2 separate regions of the Homo sapiens genome follow, and region 2 is linked to region 1. The links are contacts of gene promoters, found by promoter capture Hi-C in human tissues and cell types (Jung and others, 2019). All regions are on one chromosome and are shown on one strand. The core of a region is centred on a gene start or on the middle of the fragment in contact, and the rest is flanking DNA. Distances in the headings are between cores, read along the strand shown.

Region 1 (7,776 bases), core at 3,146-5,645:
CTCAGGAGGCTGAGGCAGGAGAATTGCTTGAACCCAGGAAGCAGAGGCTTCAGTGAGCCAAGATTGCACCACTGCACTCCAGCCTGTGCAACAGAGCTAGACTCTGTCTCAACAACAACAACAAACCACAAAGCCTTAAACTAATGTTGGTCAAATATCTAATGTTATAAATTCTGTTACCAGACAGACAGGGAAGTGAAGAAAGCACTGGACTATGACCAAGAGGTTCTGGGTTCTGATTCTGGCTGAACCAGTTTCCTTGACCTCTCTAATCCAGTTTCCTCATCTACAAAATGAGGATATTGTATCAGGTAATCTGCAAGGCCCCATTCAGCTCTGTAATTCTGTGATTCTCAGATACTAGATTAAATGTTTCCGGATTGCTTTTTGAGCATCAAATGAAATAATATGTAGATTGTGAATTAGAATACACATCTTAACATTAGTTTTGCTATGGTCCTGGCACCCTCATTACAGAGCTAGTTACACTTTGTCTCCAGCAGTTGTGTACTTGATGTGCAGTTTCTACGTATCATTTGAATTGTTTCACTTTGCAAGTAGTTTCAGACTCAATGAAAACAAGTGACATTTAGAAATGCTAGTAAGTGGAAAAAAAGTTGAAAGAGGGCAATATATCTTGCCTACTATGTGTTGAGTGCTTTATGTATATTACACCTTAAAATAGAGTTATCATCCCATTTTACAAAAAAGGATAGTGACATATGACTAAGATTACTTAGCTTATCACTGCGCACACATGACTTACACACTGAAATGTCCAGGCCCAAATCTCTCTCTACCTTCTGTCAATTACATGGATGCCCGTTCACTTCCTCTCCAAGTAAAGGGATATAAATGAGAATCAGAAAGTGGCCTTTGGTAAAGTAAGCAGAATTGAAAAGAGAACTCTTGGTTGCACCCTTACCTCAAAGCTATCTTTGGACAGCTGAGCTTGCTGGAGAGCACCAATGACCACTGCTATTGGCCCTCTTTCTAACAGTCTTCTACAGATGCCTAGAGGTGAAAGGACTTGGTCCTATCCAGAGTAGGGCCTATTCCTGTGCTTACCGTTAATGGGCCCCAGTGAGCTTCAGAGAAGGAGATCACACATTGAGGAAAACAACTAATTAATAATCAAAATTAACTTAATATAACAGCATCAGGACAGTTTCCTTGCTTTTGGTTGCTCATTTTACTTTTTTTTTTTTTTAAGAGATGCTCATTTCATGATTCAGCTCCTTTTCAAGAAAACAAACTTAGGGAGAATATTAGTTTCTACAGAGTAGAATTCAATATAAGGAGGGGTGATATAGCTGTACCATTTGTGAAGACTTGTGAGTCTTGCTTATAGGATGGGCAAAAAATGGACCTTCCAAAAAGCCGGTGGCCCATAATATTCCCCTTAGGGTGAAGAGCATTGTTATTTGTGCATCCAGGACAGCTACAGAAATAAATAACCAAAAATGTCAACAAATGAATGCCATGCAGTATTTAGAGACAAACAGCTCTAAAGAAGAATCCATTCTTGTCCAGTTAAACAATAACCCAGACCATTTGCTTTTAAATATAAAAGGGAAAAAATGAAAACGAATACCCATTTTTCTCTTTCATTATTTATGCAATCATTCTTGCACCTGCTTTCAGAAGGAAGCAAAGAATGTGATCTTTTATACTAATGCTCCAAGGGTTTTATAAATAAGTTAATTTAATTAGTAAAATTGATTCAATTTTTTTGTGATAAATAGTACTTGCTATAAATAATTCCTTGAAAGGTAAAAATATTTTGTTTAACAGTGCAAAACATGAGACTCAATTACTGGTCAACTATAGATTAAATATTATCATTCTTCATTCAATGTATACCTGATAGTACCTGACATTTTAGTTAGGCAGGGTGGTTTAATAATATTGGTCAGGATTATTGTTCTTTCTCTGTATAACACTTCTTTACTGGCTACTCCAGTACTTGCTAAGCTGTTGGATAACAAATGGAAAAATATCACATCACAGGCATATTTATCTACCGAGCAGGCAAAACAAGAAAATGGAACCCGGGCTTGGCATCATCTAGTGTTACTCAATCAAGGCAAATTATTTATTGTCTTCTGCCCAGGAGGTCCCATGGGGCATGAAATATTGATTTAGGAATTTGCTGGGCATGAATGACTGTGTGTTGCAATTGTGTTCTTTTTTTTAATCCCTTGATAATATATGGTAAATTGTTTCTATATATGCTGTGATGAGGCTGAATAACAAATTAAACCTGGCTATTTAATAAACATGAAATGTAAACACTAAACTCTTCATACTAACTTAGGGCTATAAAAGGTCACCCCATGGTGTACAGGATTGCACAATGCACTGTTCACATCCTTGTCTAGAGTCATCTCTTCCTTCATCTCACAATGGCATGGCCTCTGCTGCATCCCCTAGGTCCCGATTCCAACTTCCCAAGTGGAACTGGGAGAGCCGGAGTGTTCTTTATGGTTCACTTGGGGATTATCAAAGCCAGGACTTGGGGTGGGAGGTTCTAGATATTGGGAAGGAGCTAAAGCTGGGCTAAGAGGGAATTTGTGGCGAAGAGGAGGAGCTATTCATGACCCAAGCAGAAGAAAATGAGTCTGGAGCAACTGTAAAGCAAAAAGCCACGATGCAGGAAGGATGGCAACATGCAAAGTTATTTCATCAGTGGAAAATCTTTGCTCTGTACCATTCTATAGGTCCATGAAATACCGAATATTAAAAGTGAGGGCCACACATTAATGCACGGCATCAGTATCTATTTGTTTGTTTGATTCACTCATTGGTACTTCTCATGTAAGAAACAGCACAGCAGTTACGATGAAGACTCTGGAATCAGATGACCTGGGTTTTAAGCCAGCCTCTGCTACTTTCTAAGAATGAGATTTTAACTAAATCATTTAACTTCCTTTGGCCTCAGCTCCTCATCTCTAAAAAGAGGATAAAGTGTCTCCTTTGAAGAGAGCTGGCCTGAGAATGGAGACCACACTGAGGAACAGATAGAGCTAAGAGCTGGACAGAGCTAGCTGGCCCCTGAGGACATAGTTTGAGTTCCTGCTTTCAACCTTGCCTCAATGGAGTGCCCTCTGGATCTTCTGATTTTATGAGGTGATCAATTCTGTCTTTGGTTTATTTAAATGTAAATTAGTTTGTATTGGATTTACAACCAAATTACAATGGACTTGGTTTACGTGATCCTCTTGGTTTGCCACTGACTTTCTATACATAGAAGACAACCAATATATACTTACTGAATGTATGAATGAGCTAAAATTTATTTTTTTAAAAAACCTCTTGAAACCCATGAATTTAATCTCCTCTGCATTATCATACCATCCTAGGCAATTCACGTTCAATTTAAGTGTGTCCACATAGGAGCACATCCTTCTGTAGAGAAACACATGATGCAGCCCTGAGGGTCTTGCTGGATGAACTGGATGGCTAAGAAAACTGCAGGGAGAGACCAGAGATTGAGCTCAGAAGACCTGAGTTCTTTTCAACAGAACTAACACCATGGTCTGCTCAGTCTCTTGACCTCTCCGAGCACCATTCTTGATGCACAAGATGCGAAGAATAATATCTACCTACCGGGTAGTTGTTAAGCTCAAAGGAGCTCATTTACATGAGAGCTAAGAATGAAACTAACGTAATTTGTTGGTTTCCCCCACATATTCCCATTTCAATTGGTGATGGATACACACCTGCCAAATCATGAGCCTAAGGGTGTTAACTTTTTTTTTTCCTAATAAAATGCACAACGGTAGTCGCATTCCAGAAGGCTATGTGTCAACACACGCGATCATATCTGGGTCTTGGGTGTGACCTTTGGCCAAATACTCAGTGTCCTCGAGGGTCTGTAAAAGGAAAAGTTTCCACTGGCGCGTTCTCTCCAAGGTTCGCTTCAGCTCTGCTATCCCAGGGCTCCTGATGGCAGCGGCACGGGCTGTGCTTAAGGCGAGTTCCTAACAGGCCCTCGGGGCACTCCTGCATCTCCGCACCCGGCAGCCTCGCCCCTTGGGTGTTTTTGGTGGGCGTGACTAGAAGCACCTGCTCCTGGGCTCCTTTTGCATCTTGCTGCAGTCCCCTCCTGTGAAGGGCGCAGCTCTGCAGTCTCCTCGCTCTTCCCTCGGGTGTTCTTTCTGAGATCCGGTTTCAATCCTCGAGCGTGTAGCCCTCAGGTCCCCTTACAACTCCCCAGAGCTCCGTGTGCATGCGTGCGAGAGGGAGAGAGCCAGGGAGAGACCCAGGTGACGAGACGAGGCTCCCGGGCTCCAGTTACTGGCCCGCAGGGCCGGGGCACGTCGTCGCCCAGCGTGCGGCGGGGCCCGGGAGCGCCGCGGCCCCTTTAAGAGCCGGGCCCAGGCCGTCGCCGGGACCGCAGGAGCCCAGAGCGCGGGCGCCGCAGAGGAGTTGGGAGCCGGCGCAAAAGTTTCCTCCCAACTCTGGCCCCGTGCGCCGCCGCCGCCGCCGCCCACTCCAGCCCCCGGCTTGGGGCCGGCCCTGCCAACGCCGCCAGGGCCAGGGCCAGGGCCAGGACCAGCGACAGGGCAGGGCCGGCAGTTTCGCTTTGGTGGGCGCGGAGCAGCCGCCTGGGCCGGGCAGGAGTAGGAGCGGGAGGAGGAGGAGGAGGAGCCGGTGCCGCGGAGCTGCCGCGTCCCGGGCCGCCGGGCACCTGGGAGGTAACCCCTTTCCGCGGCCGCCCCTCCCCGATTCCCGCCACCTGCCGCCTGGCCAGGTGGAAGGGGCGCTGCCGCGAGCCTCCGGGCCTCAGGGTGTTCCGGGGAGCGGCGCCCCGGGTCTCTGGGCCCACCCGCCCCGGGCGTCCTCCGAGAGTGGGGGCTGCGCCCGCGGGGTCAGACACCTGTTCGGCCCGGCCCGGCGTGGTCGCCGGGGGCCAGGATGAAAGTGACCGTGTGCTTCGGCAGGACGGGCATCGTGGTGCCCTGCAAGGAGGGCCAGCTGCGCGTCGGCGAGCTCACCCAGCAGGCGCTGCAGCGGTACCTGAAGACCCGGGAGAAGGTGAGCGCGGCGCGGAGGAGTGGGGCGCGGCTGCAGCCAAGGCACCTGCCAGGTGCGACCCGGTGGCGACACTCAGGGGATGCAGAAAACCCAGGGGATTATGGGGCACTGCCTGTAGCTGCAGCTGTTGTCTATTGCTAATATCAGTGATGTGGGTGTCTTTGGGTGTTTGTGGGCCTTGAGCTCCGAGGGTCGTGAGTGGACCTGCAGCATTGGAATCTCTTGGGAGCTTCTTAGAACTGCCCAATATGGGCAGTTCTCCAAACCCACCGACTCAGGATCTGCTCTTTAACGAGATCCCCAGGTGATTGGAATGCCCACTGAAGTTTGAGAACCACTGGTTTAGAACTTGTTTGAGGGAACGTCTTAAAAGGTGCTGCTCACCTAAGTGTGATTTTTGACCCATTAAGGCCCGCCTCACTTAGGCTCCTTGGAGTTAGAAAGTTGATTGTGCAAGTGACACATACTCGGAAGTTACAACTGATGGGGCCTTTGGAGTTTCAGCCTTGTGAGCTGCCCTGTCTCAGTGACTTGGGCAGGAACACAGGTGGGAGCATGCTGTTTGCTTAGCCAACCTGTCTACATTTTGAGTGTTTTCAGTTTAATGTCACAGATTCTATGACCATTTACTATGTGTGTGGGCTGTTGTCAGGTCCTGAGTGACTATTAAAATGAGAAAGACGTTCCTAGCTCTGTAGCTGAAGTCAGGAACAAGTATAAATTAAGTGACAATTTTTTTTAAGTGTGCAATACATGTTGAGAAAATATCTGGCACTAGAACTTATGCCAAGTATTTGGGTAACATTGGGCCTCTGGGACTTCCTCAGTGAAACTTTTAAAGGAAGGCATTGAATAACCTTTTAATTTTTTGAATCTTCACATGGAACATTTTGTATGTCCCAAATGCTCCTCAAACAGGGCAAGTCACAAATTCTTGTTTTAGCGGCCAATGGTTCTCTTAATATTTGGTCTCGTGCCATGTGACTAAAATAGTGGGTTGGTCAATCTAGTGATGGAAAAACGTAAGTTTTAATTTCTTTTAACTTCTTATCGGTTATCCAAAGCATAAAAGTAATTGTTTCTTACAAGTGTATAGCTTAGGGGTTTAAGAAAATACTTGCACCTTCTTTGCCTCCATGAAGAATTATTATACAGAAAAAAAATTCAGCTCTGGACAGATACATGTGCATATTGCTTTGGATACTCAAGAACTGGAGGAGAGTACAATGAAAGGTCTATTAATATATTAAATATAACCCCTAAAGATGAACTCTTTACTGATGGAATTGAGGTGGAGGAGGGAAAAAATTAAAGTGGTTTATAAAGCTGTGTGAAAATCAACTGCAATGTTATGTGTGTGTGTGCACGTGCATATGTGTTTGCCATTGTTAAAATAGTGTTTGCTGTTTAAATCATGTAATTCAGTTAACTGATGTTTAAACAAGTAACCAATTGTCTATTAAATCATATTTCACTAACTTTTGAAAGTGAGCTAAGATTAATAGTAACAACATTACTCCAGACAGATTATTGAAATAGATCTCATTGAGGGATTGTCTTACCAAATTGAAGTTACTTTTTAACTATTAAATAATTTATGCCCTCAAATCTTGTATATTTAGAAGTTTAGTACAGGGGGCTATCCAAGTAAGAGATAAACTACAAGCTTGTAAATAACATGAAGAGAACTAACCAGCTGATATTTAATTCACTATAATTTGATCTTAAAAGGTGTTAAAATATTGACATTCTGGAATGGAAACGTAACTTATAATATCACAGAACAATGTAGTTGCATTGATCAGTTTACTATTATTACCAGACTTATATTTTTCTGTTTACATTTATATATTAGTGAATGTGACATTTAAAGGTCACCTGCAGCATATAAATCCTTCCTCTTATTTTCACTTTTAAAATTTCATTTTAAGAAGTAGTAGGTGATGATTTTTCCCCTCCCCAAGTATTCTTCTCCCATAGTTTTATTTTAAATAATATTGTAATCATAACAAGATTTAACGAATATTAAATCGTATTCATAATGGCACTAAAAGGTCAATAAATACCCTAACAAATTCCATGCTTTTATTCATTTTTTTTAAATGAGAAAAGGCCAGAAATGTCAAAATTCAATTTGAAAAACAATGTGTAGTAAATTCACTTTCTGTAAATCAGTGAATTTCTGCACTTCGTAATAATAATCACACTAACATGTAACATGTATTGTGCTTATTCTGTGCAGGCCCTGTTTTAGGAACTTCATGCTTATGACTTATTTCTCCCAACAACCTTAGGAGATAGGTACTATTATTATCCCCATTTTACAAATCAGGGGAAAAAGAGACACAGAGACATGACAAGTAAGTCGTAGATTTGGGTTTAGAAACCAGGAACTGTGTCTTTAGATGTTTGCTCTCAGCCATTAACTGCATAGCCTAGTACTATGTATGTTGTTATGAATTGGAATTTATCCATATTGTTTGTTTTTTAATGCTTGATTTAAAAAGACATTTCCATCTACTAACTGCTATATCACATCAACCTAAAAATAGCAATTTTGCTTCTGGAATAGTGATGGGATATCCACAAGTTTCTCTTAATTATATATTTTATGAGGTCTACATGTAGAAAATCTAGTTTCTGAGGCAAATATTGTAGGATTTGCAAATCAACTATGAAAAATATTCCTCAGTCTAACTACAAATGGGAAAATGGGCAAGATCTTAGACATCCAGG
Region 2 (7,776 bases), core at 3,554-6,053, 150 kb after region 1:
CAGGATCATCCTGGCTAACACAGTGAAACCCCATCTCTACTAAAAATACAAAAAAATTACACAGGAGTGGTGGCATGCACCTGTAATCCCAGCTACTCAGGAGGCTGAGGCACGAGAATCAATTCAACCCAGGAGGCAGAGGTTGCAGTGAGCCAAGATCACACCAGTGCAGGCCAGCCTGGGTGACAGAGCAAGACTCCATCTAAAAAAAAAAAAAAAAAAAGGTGAAAAAAAGAATTTCTTATTTTTCTGACAACCTTGGTAATCTTAAGATTTCTTTATAGTCCATATGTCTATTGTGGAAAGAAGGCCCTGCCAAATTTCATTTTACCTTACTTTTTGGCAGTTTAGATTAAGAAGTAACTATAAGTGATGCTTTGTGGATGCTTAATGACATATCAGTCTCACTCAGGATCCTTTGAGGCGGTATTGAGCTTAGACAAAATAACAGTTCACCTGTTTGCAAATTGGCTACCTAATAATCTTTGGCATTTAAAATGTGGATAGAGAACAAGTCCAAAGAGGCACGGATAGATGCACATAATCATTGTGCTAACCCCAAAATATCTCACCTCCTAGGAAAGACTCTCACTCCAGGTGAGAAGTGGCATTAAGGAACTGTTGGTCTATTGCAGCATATCAGGCAGGAAAAACAGAAACTTAGAAAGCAGGGGAGGCTGGGCCATTTAGTGTATGGTAACACCATCCCATACACTTCAGTAAAGGTAGAAACTAGAGGTTAAATGATATTGTACTTCAAATTAGAGAAGGCTCTAACAAAGTTCAGCCAGTGTTCTTAAGAAATGACTTTTAAAACTTGTGCCTAAAGTGGTTTGTCTGTGGTCTTACTTCTATTATTCCTTTGGCCAACATAGTGCTTGGCGCATACATGGTATCTGCTTGGGAGCTTTGGTTTTTTAAACTTGCTTTCCTAGTACAGCTTCCACGGGGACCAAGTCTCCACTGTGTTACACTACTTCTAGCCTATATGTGTCAAAATATTATTGGAACAGCTTTGGAATATTGCATCTTATGATAACTATTTGTATAAAATGTTGTGCTGAAACTTAATAATTATCTGGTTGTGACAGTTATTCTCAAGATTCTTCAGTTTGTCTATCAGTCTGATGATTCGAGTTCTTTGGGATAAATATCTAAGAATTGTAATTTTACACTCATGTCTCCTCTCTGGTTGCTAAAGGCTACCAACTTAGTTCACCCAATAGTAACAACCTAATCATTGATGACTAGCAATGGCCCAGAATGTCTTTGGCCCTTATTTATTCTACGTTATTTTAAAGCAATCCTGAAGACAAGAGCTAGTGTTATCCCTATTTTTAATTTCCAGAATAATCACAGAAATTGTAAGTAACTTGCCCAAGATCACACAGGTAGTAAATGGCACAATCAGACTCTGGAACCTAGAATTTAAATTTCTGTAATCTTATTTCTTTTCTTCTCTGATGTGTCAAGCAGTTTGGCGCTTGTATCTATAATTTCTATTACGAAAATTCATCAGTCATAAATTAACATGAATTTTGCTTTTACGTAGTCACCACCATTGCTAAGAAAAGGTTGGTAATAGACCAAACTGTTGAGTATAACAAAACAGTTGAGTATACAATTTATTTATAAATTAATTCAGAATTAATATGCCATACATATTTAATATATTTCAACCCTGTTTGCCTATAGCCTGCATCTAGTTTATTGTAAAGGCTTGTCAGCTCTACCTCTGTTGCTTTCTTTTGCATCCTCTTTTCTCTAGGACCCAGATTATTTGATTTAGATACAGTTTAATTTCAGTTGGACGCTTTAGACTGCACTTGAAGTCTAACCACCATATGCAATTACAAAGAAAAACAAGTTTGTATTACAGTAACTACTTTTTTGCACCAACTATAGACTGTGCTGTTTTCAGTAGGCAGAGTAATGGCGCCTCAAAAATGTCTACTCCCTAATCTCTACAACCTGTGAATATGAATGTTACATGACACAGCGTCTTTGCAGATGTGCTTAAGGATCTTAAAATGGAGAGATTATTCTGGATTATTTGGATGGACCCAATGTAGTCACAAGCATCCTTATAAATGAAAGAAGAAGGCAGGAGAGTATTAGAGAGATAAATGTGAGAAAGACACACCCAGCCAATGCCAGCTGTGAAGATGGAGAAGGTGCCACCAGCGAAGAATGTAGCTGGCCTCTGACATTGGAATCAGTAAGGGAATGGATTCTCCCCTAAAGCCTCCAGAGAGAACACAGTCCTGCTGATACCTTGATTTTAGCCCAGTGAGACTTGTTTCAGATTTCTTAACTGTCAGATAATAAATTTGTGATGTTTTAAGCCATTGCATTTGTGGTGACTTGCTACAGCAGCAATAGGACACTAATACATACACTGCCTCTTTTCCCATTTTAACTTTTAAAGTGATGTTAGTCTTCTCAAATTTCATATTGACTGGGCATTGAGATCCTGCAGGATGAGATAAATGCTTTGTACTTCAGATGGGTTCCTTGTTCTTTGCCTTCCTCCCAAAGTCCATCACAAATGATCCTCAGTTTATTGGGTGAGCCTTCACTCTTTGAGACTTGATCTTTAAATATCTAATTATGCTGTTATCGTCTATAGTGTAGAAATTATTTCAAAGTCACAGACAAACAGCCTTGTTCACTTATCAGTTTCTCGCTGCAGTATGTAAAGGCCCTAAGAAGTCTGAAGACTGATGCTTAGTAAACCACTGCAAAGCTTAATGCTTCCTTCCTTTTAAGTGAGCATGAGAGCTTCTGAGTATTAAGCTTTTTAAAATGATTATTTTCTTTGGTAATTGCCATTATTAATTTTTGGCTGGGTTGAAGAAGACAACTGCAATATAACATGAAAACATGGCAGTCTATCACATCTATTATATAAAGTCAATTACTGCCATGGTTTCATTAACTGTACAAAAGTAATACTGTATTATGTAGTAAAGTAACATGGAAAGATGCCTCTGTTCTTGACTAAATTTTGCCTATCCTAGGGGGCTAGTTTGGAGAGATGCCAGTGGTTTTCAGGGCTTCCAAGTGAATTGCCCACTGGATCACATGTGATATCTGGTATTCAAATGTTATAATTTCAGTTCAGTTTTATCTCCTATTAGTTATCAGTCCTTGGGCAAGCTTCTTCATCTCTCTGGTCTTGGTTTCCCCATTTGTAAAATGAATATAATGTTCTTACAGGGTTGGTGTAGGAAAACTAGGTAGGTAAACTATATAAAATTTTAAGTATAGTATAGCATATACTGAGAACTCAAATGCTGTTATATTAATGATACTATGGTAGTGCTATTACAGTATTTTTAATGTAGGTGTTTTGATGTTACCATTAGATGTTTTTAGGTATTTAAACATCAAATAAACTATTTTACTGTATATTTTAACTGCTTTTTAAACAAAACTGATATGAATGAAGTTATTAAATTGGTAAAATAGTTTTATAAGAAGATATTGAATATGACAGAACATTTGGATTAATATATTGTTATTATTTGCGAAATGAAAATGCCAGTATGATTAAACTGGAAATGAGAATCCTTTTATCAGAACATATTATTTGGTAACATAAGGAGCATTTGGAGATGTAACATGATTTTAAAATGGAGACTGGTTTGCGCAATGCTGCATGAACTAGTGACCTAAAGCCAGGCTCTTTATTCTTAAGCCAAATTGCTTTCTGAACACTCTGTTGCCCTCTAGTGGGTCCACAGTTACCTAGAAACCAGCTCACAGGAGCTACTTCCTGAACAGGATGAAGTATTTTGTTCTACTTTATTTGAAAATAATTTTTGCTATGTTTTTTGTTACAACTCACAGACTCAGGCATGGAGAATAAAGCCAGAGTTTGCATATATTTCCCTGTGCTTTTGTGCATCTTCTAGTAAGGGCTAAAGGAAATTCCTTGCATTTATAAAAACTCCTCTTTTAAATTTATTTTTAAATTTAGACTTCTTCCCGCCTACCTGTTTGCTGGCTGAAAGATTAATGGCTGGTGGTGATGAAGTGTGTAACTTATTCAGTCTGTAGTTGGACAATCTATGAAGTATATTGTGTTTTCTGGAGAAGGAGAATGCTAAATTAAGTTAAACAGCTTTTTTTTTTTTAAAGGTCCTGATTTATTTCATTTCTTAGCCCTCATTTTATCAGTAAGATTTCCATCGCAAGCTAAAGTACCTATTTTAAAGCCACAATTAAAAGAAAAACAAATCAGGATATGATGTGTTTTTGTTTTTCCTTCAAAAAGTCTTACTTTGGTTCATGGGAGTTGATGTTATAAAAGCACAAAAGCACATAGAAGAAGTTTGGAGAAGGTTTCAGAAATAAATGCAGAAGCTCCTGAAGAACAAATGAATTACCTTGGTCATGAAATTTTAGCTCAGAATTTTCAAGATTACTCTCCGCTTATAGAATTACAAAATTGTAGAATCATGGATCCAAACAAGACCTCAACAGTCATGTGGATTAAACTCATCATCTTTCAAAAGAGGAAATATCCTACCCAGGAAGAGGTTATAGAACACGATGTCTGTAGCTGATTTAGTTCCTGAGTCCATTTCTGCATTTCCTCCCTAGGATGCTGATAACATCTCATGCAGATCAAAACTACTCAGTTTGAAGTTGGCTTCCTCCATTGACATCCTTGTTTTTGTTGGTTAGTTTCAAGTTGGCTTCTTCCATTGACATCCTTGTTTTTGTTGGTTAGGAGCACCTTCTCCTAGTCTCCCAGACTTGAACTTGCAGTTATTTTAAAAATTTAGTTATTTAATAAAGCCAATTTATTCTTTCCTTTATCCTTTCCCATATGTTTGTTTTTGTCTTTGAATTTCCACAGCTACCAAATTTATATCCATAATATTTCAGGCCAAGGTTACTGTAATTGACAAGAAATTGGTCGTCTTGTTTTTAGTCTCTTCCTTACCTGTCAGCTGTTTTTGTGCCTCGTATGTAGGCAGAATGGTTAAGATCTTGGATTCTGGACAAAAAAGTCAGTTCATTTCTTGGCCCTGTTATTTGTCTAGTTTTGTCCAAGTTGCTAAACCTCTTTGTGCCTTAGTTTCATCATGGATAAGTGGAACTAAAAATAGTACTAATTATGTAAGTTAACACGAAGTGTTCAGGAGAGCACCTGGCCTGTAGTAAGTCATCAATTGTTATTGTAATTAACACACTATTAATAATGTAAATTACATTATTTAAAAAGTATTGCTTAAATCATATTGTTCCTTTTAGTGTATACTGCATCAAGTCCAAACTTTGTAGCCATTTAGAGGCCTCACAATGCCTCCAAACTTTCTCTAAACCCACTTCAACCGCAGTGGTGGCGAAACTACTGTACGATTTATTATGTATCATGGACTTTCTAGCTCCAAAGCTTTTTTTCTTAATGTTCCGGTTGTCTGCTATATCCTTGTCCCTATTTCCTGCCCATCGAAGATTCAGTTTATGTTGTATTTTGTATTATTCAATATTAGCTCCATGAGGAGGGGGTCTTTGCTTTATTCACTGCTGTATTCCCAGTGCCTGCAGCAGTGCCTGGCATTTCCTAGCTGTTCAAATAATTACAGTCAATGAATGAACGTATGCTTTGAGGTTTTGAATAAGCCATTCAACCACTTGTAACTCCAGTTTTTCCATTGGTAAAATGAGAGTGATAAATGATATCGTTCACATCGTATTATTGGGAAGGTTGAAAAAGTGTGCAGGAAAATACAATGGAAATTACAAAGCACTATATACGTGTAAAAAATGTATCTATTCCTGCTGTTCAGTTCTTATGAATTTTTCAAGATCAAGGTGAAATTGTATTTTATCCCAGTCAACATTTGTAAATCATCTCAATCTAAAGTAAATCCTCTGTGCTCTGAAATTTTATAGAAACGATTAAGTGGTCTTTTTTTCTTTTTCAAATGTTATTGGCTAGTAACATTTACCACTTACCATCTCGAAGTTCTTAAGAATTTTATTGTTTAACTTTTTAAGTCTTGGTTTGTCTGTCCAGGTGTCTTGTGTGCTGTTTTAGGACTGGGATGATTGTTTAAAATATTTTTTAGCCCATAGACTTCTTACCTGTAGTTCAGTGTTTCATAAACATGTTTAATTTTAGTTAGTGATAGAGTGGGAACTAGAATTGAAGATTTCTAATTGACTACCTTTTTCTTCCACCAAACTACGTTGTCTCTTTGAAATATTTTATTAGGAGACAGTTTGTGGGCATGTTTCAACCTCAGAGAAGAATTTTGGAATCAATGCCTTTGTGACCTTACTATAGCTAAGGCAAATAGTGTCAAGAGATAGTAACTTAAACTACAGTAATCTTGATGATGGCCATGTCAGATATGTGCCTTCCGCAATTTAGTTGGTTGACAACTATAGTGTGTATGGGTGTATGTGTGTATGTACGTATGATGAGAGAATCTGTGCACAGATGTATGTATGTGGAGGAGTGTGTACACTTGCCCTGAATTTGTTTGCTTGTTGTGTACAATTGTGACACACAGGTTTCATCAGAGGTTGGAATGACATGATCAAGCTCTATGGTATTATTAATTTAGCTAAGCATTTGAGTACAGTGAAGAGTAAACCATAAGAAAATGTTTGATATGTGTGTAAAATTTTAAGTTTGGTTGGAGGGAAAAACCCAATAAAATTTGAGATCACAATAATGCTTTACTTAGAGCTAAAAATGTAATTCAAAATAAGAGTCAATGAACACTTTCATCTTTACAGTATGCCTTTCACCATATGTTACATTACTGGACCCAGTTCTACCAATTTTCTCTCTCACATTAGCTTCTTTTGAAGCTATTTGTATAGGCATATCTTTGGCCTAGGGGTATGGGACCATTATTTTTTTTTAATATACATCTGTTTTTTTACTTATGTAACTTACGAATTACAATCTCATTGTAATACCTAAAATTATACCAAATGGAAGACTACTTAAGCTATAAAACATCTTCTTTTAAAAATGCAAATGCCTGTGAGTACTAGTGTCAGTCACCAGTACCTGTGTGTATTGATTCAGATCGTGCTCCACTAATACCTAGCTGAAATCAGCTTCACTAAAGCAGTATTGTAGAGTGTCATGTGGCAGAGCACAGGGCATTGACAGTTTGAATGTAGGTTTTTCTTATTTTAAGCTGTCTCAACCTCAGTTCTCATGTTTATAAAGTCAGCTTTTAGGAGGAGGATCAAATGAAATGAAAGAGTGTGTGGTAACATTTTGAACTGTGATGTATCACACAAATATATCACTTTTATTCTTTCCTCGTGTAGCAGCAGCCCTGAGGTATTTAAGCAAACATTTCTGCATAGCCCAGAAAGGGCTTGTGGTGGTATGAGAACACTGAGCCAGGAACAGAGGAATGTCAGAGAGGTTTGGAAGGGAGGAGGATGGTTATGTCAAAAGGCCACTCTTCTCTTCTTGCCATCTAGTGAGGTGTTCAGGAAAGAGTTAGTGCTGAGAGTATAGGGAGAAGTAGTTTTCTGAAACAAAAATTGCATTTTTCTTTAATAAGTGAATGTGGGTGGTAAGAAGGGATATCAGAACTTCCAGGTACAGACCATCAAGGAAGGTGAAAACTAAAGTACAAGGATAGTTGTTCAGAATCTTCCCAAGATTCCAGAACCTTGATAACGTCTGCATAGGTTATCAGGTATCATGTTTGCTGCCTATTTCTTAATGAGTAACAGCGGGTTCTATAAAATGGGAGGTGGGTGCTTTGAAACAATAGGGAGTAT

Evidence for each region. The method cuts DNA at HindIII sites, captures the fragments that hold promoters and counts their contacts. A contact is called where the count stands out against the background at its distance.
Region 2: a contact is called between a fragment that was not itself captured here and the fragment with the promoter of PARD3B in region 1, in 1 of the 25 tissues and cell types used here (IMR-90 fibroblasts).

What each region holds. Positions count from the first base shown.
Region 1 is chr2:204,541,080-204,548,855 of GRCh38, forward strand. PARD3B (par-3 family cell polarity regulator beta) reads left to right here and starts at 4,396. Exons shown (of 23, transcript NM_001302769.2): 1 at 4,396-5,040. The coding sequence starts at 4,921. RefSeq lists a silencer at 4,383-4,432. The HindIII fragment of the contact is 11,144 bases long and covers 1-7,776 here.
Region 2 is chr2:204,688,375-204,696,150 of GRCh38, forward strand. The region is part of intron 2 of PARD3B (par-3 family cell polarity regulator beta); the gene reads left to right. Among named protein-coding and RNA genes, the nearest start is that of PARD3B, 150 kb to the left of the region's middle. The HindIII fragment of the contact is 4,065 bases long and covers 2,772-6,836 here.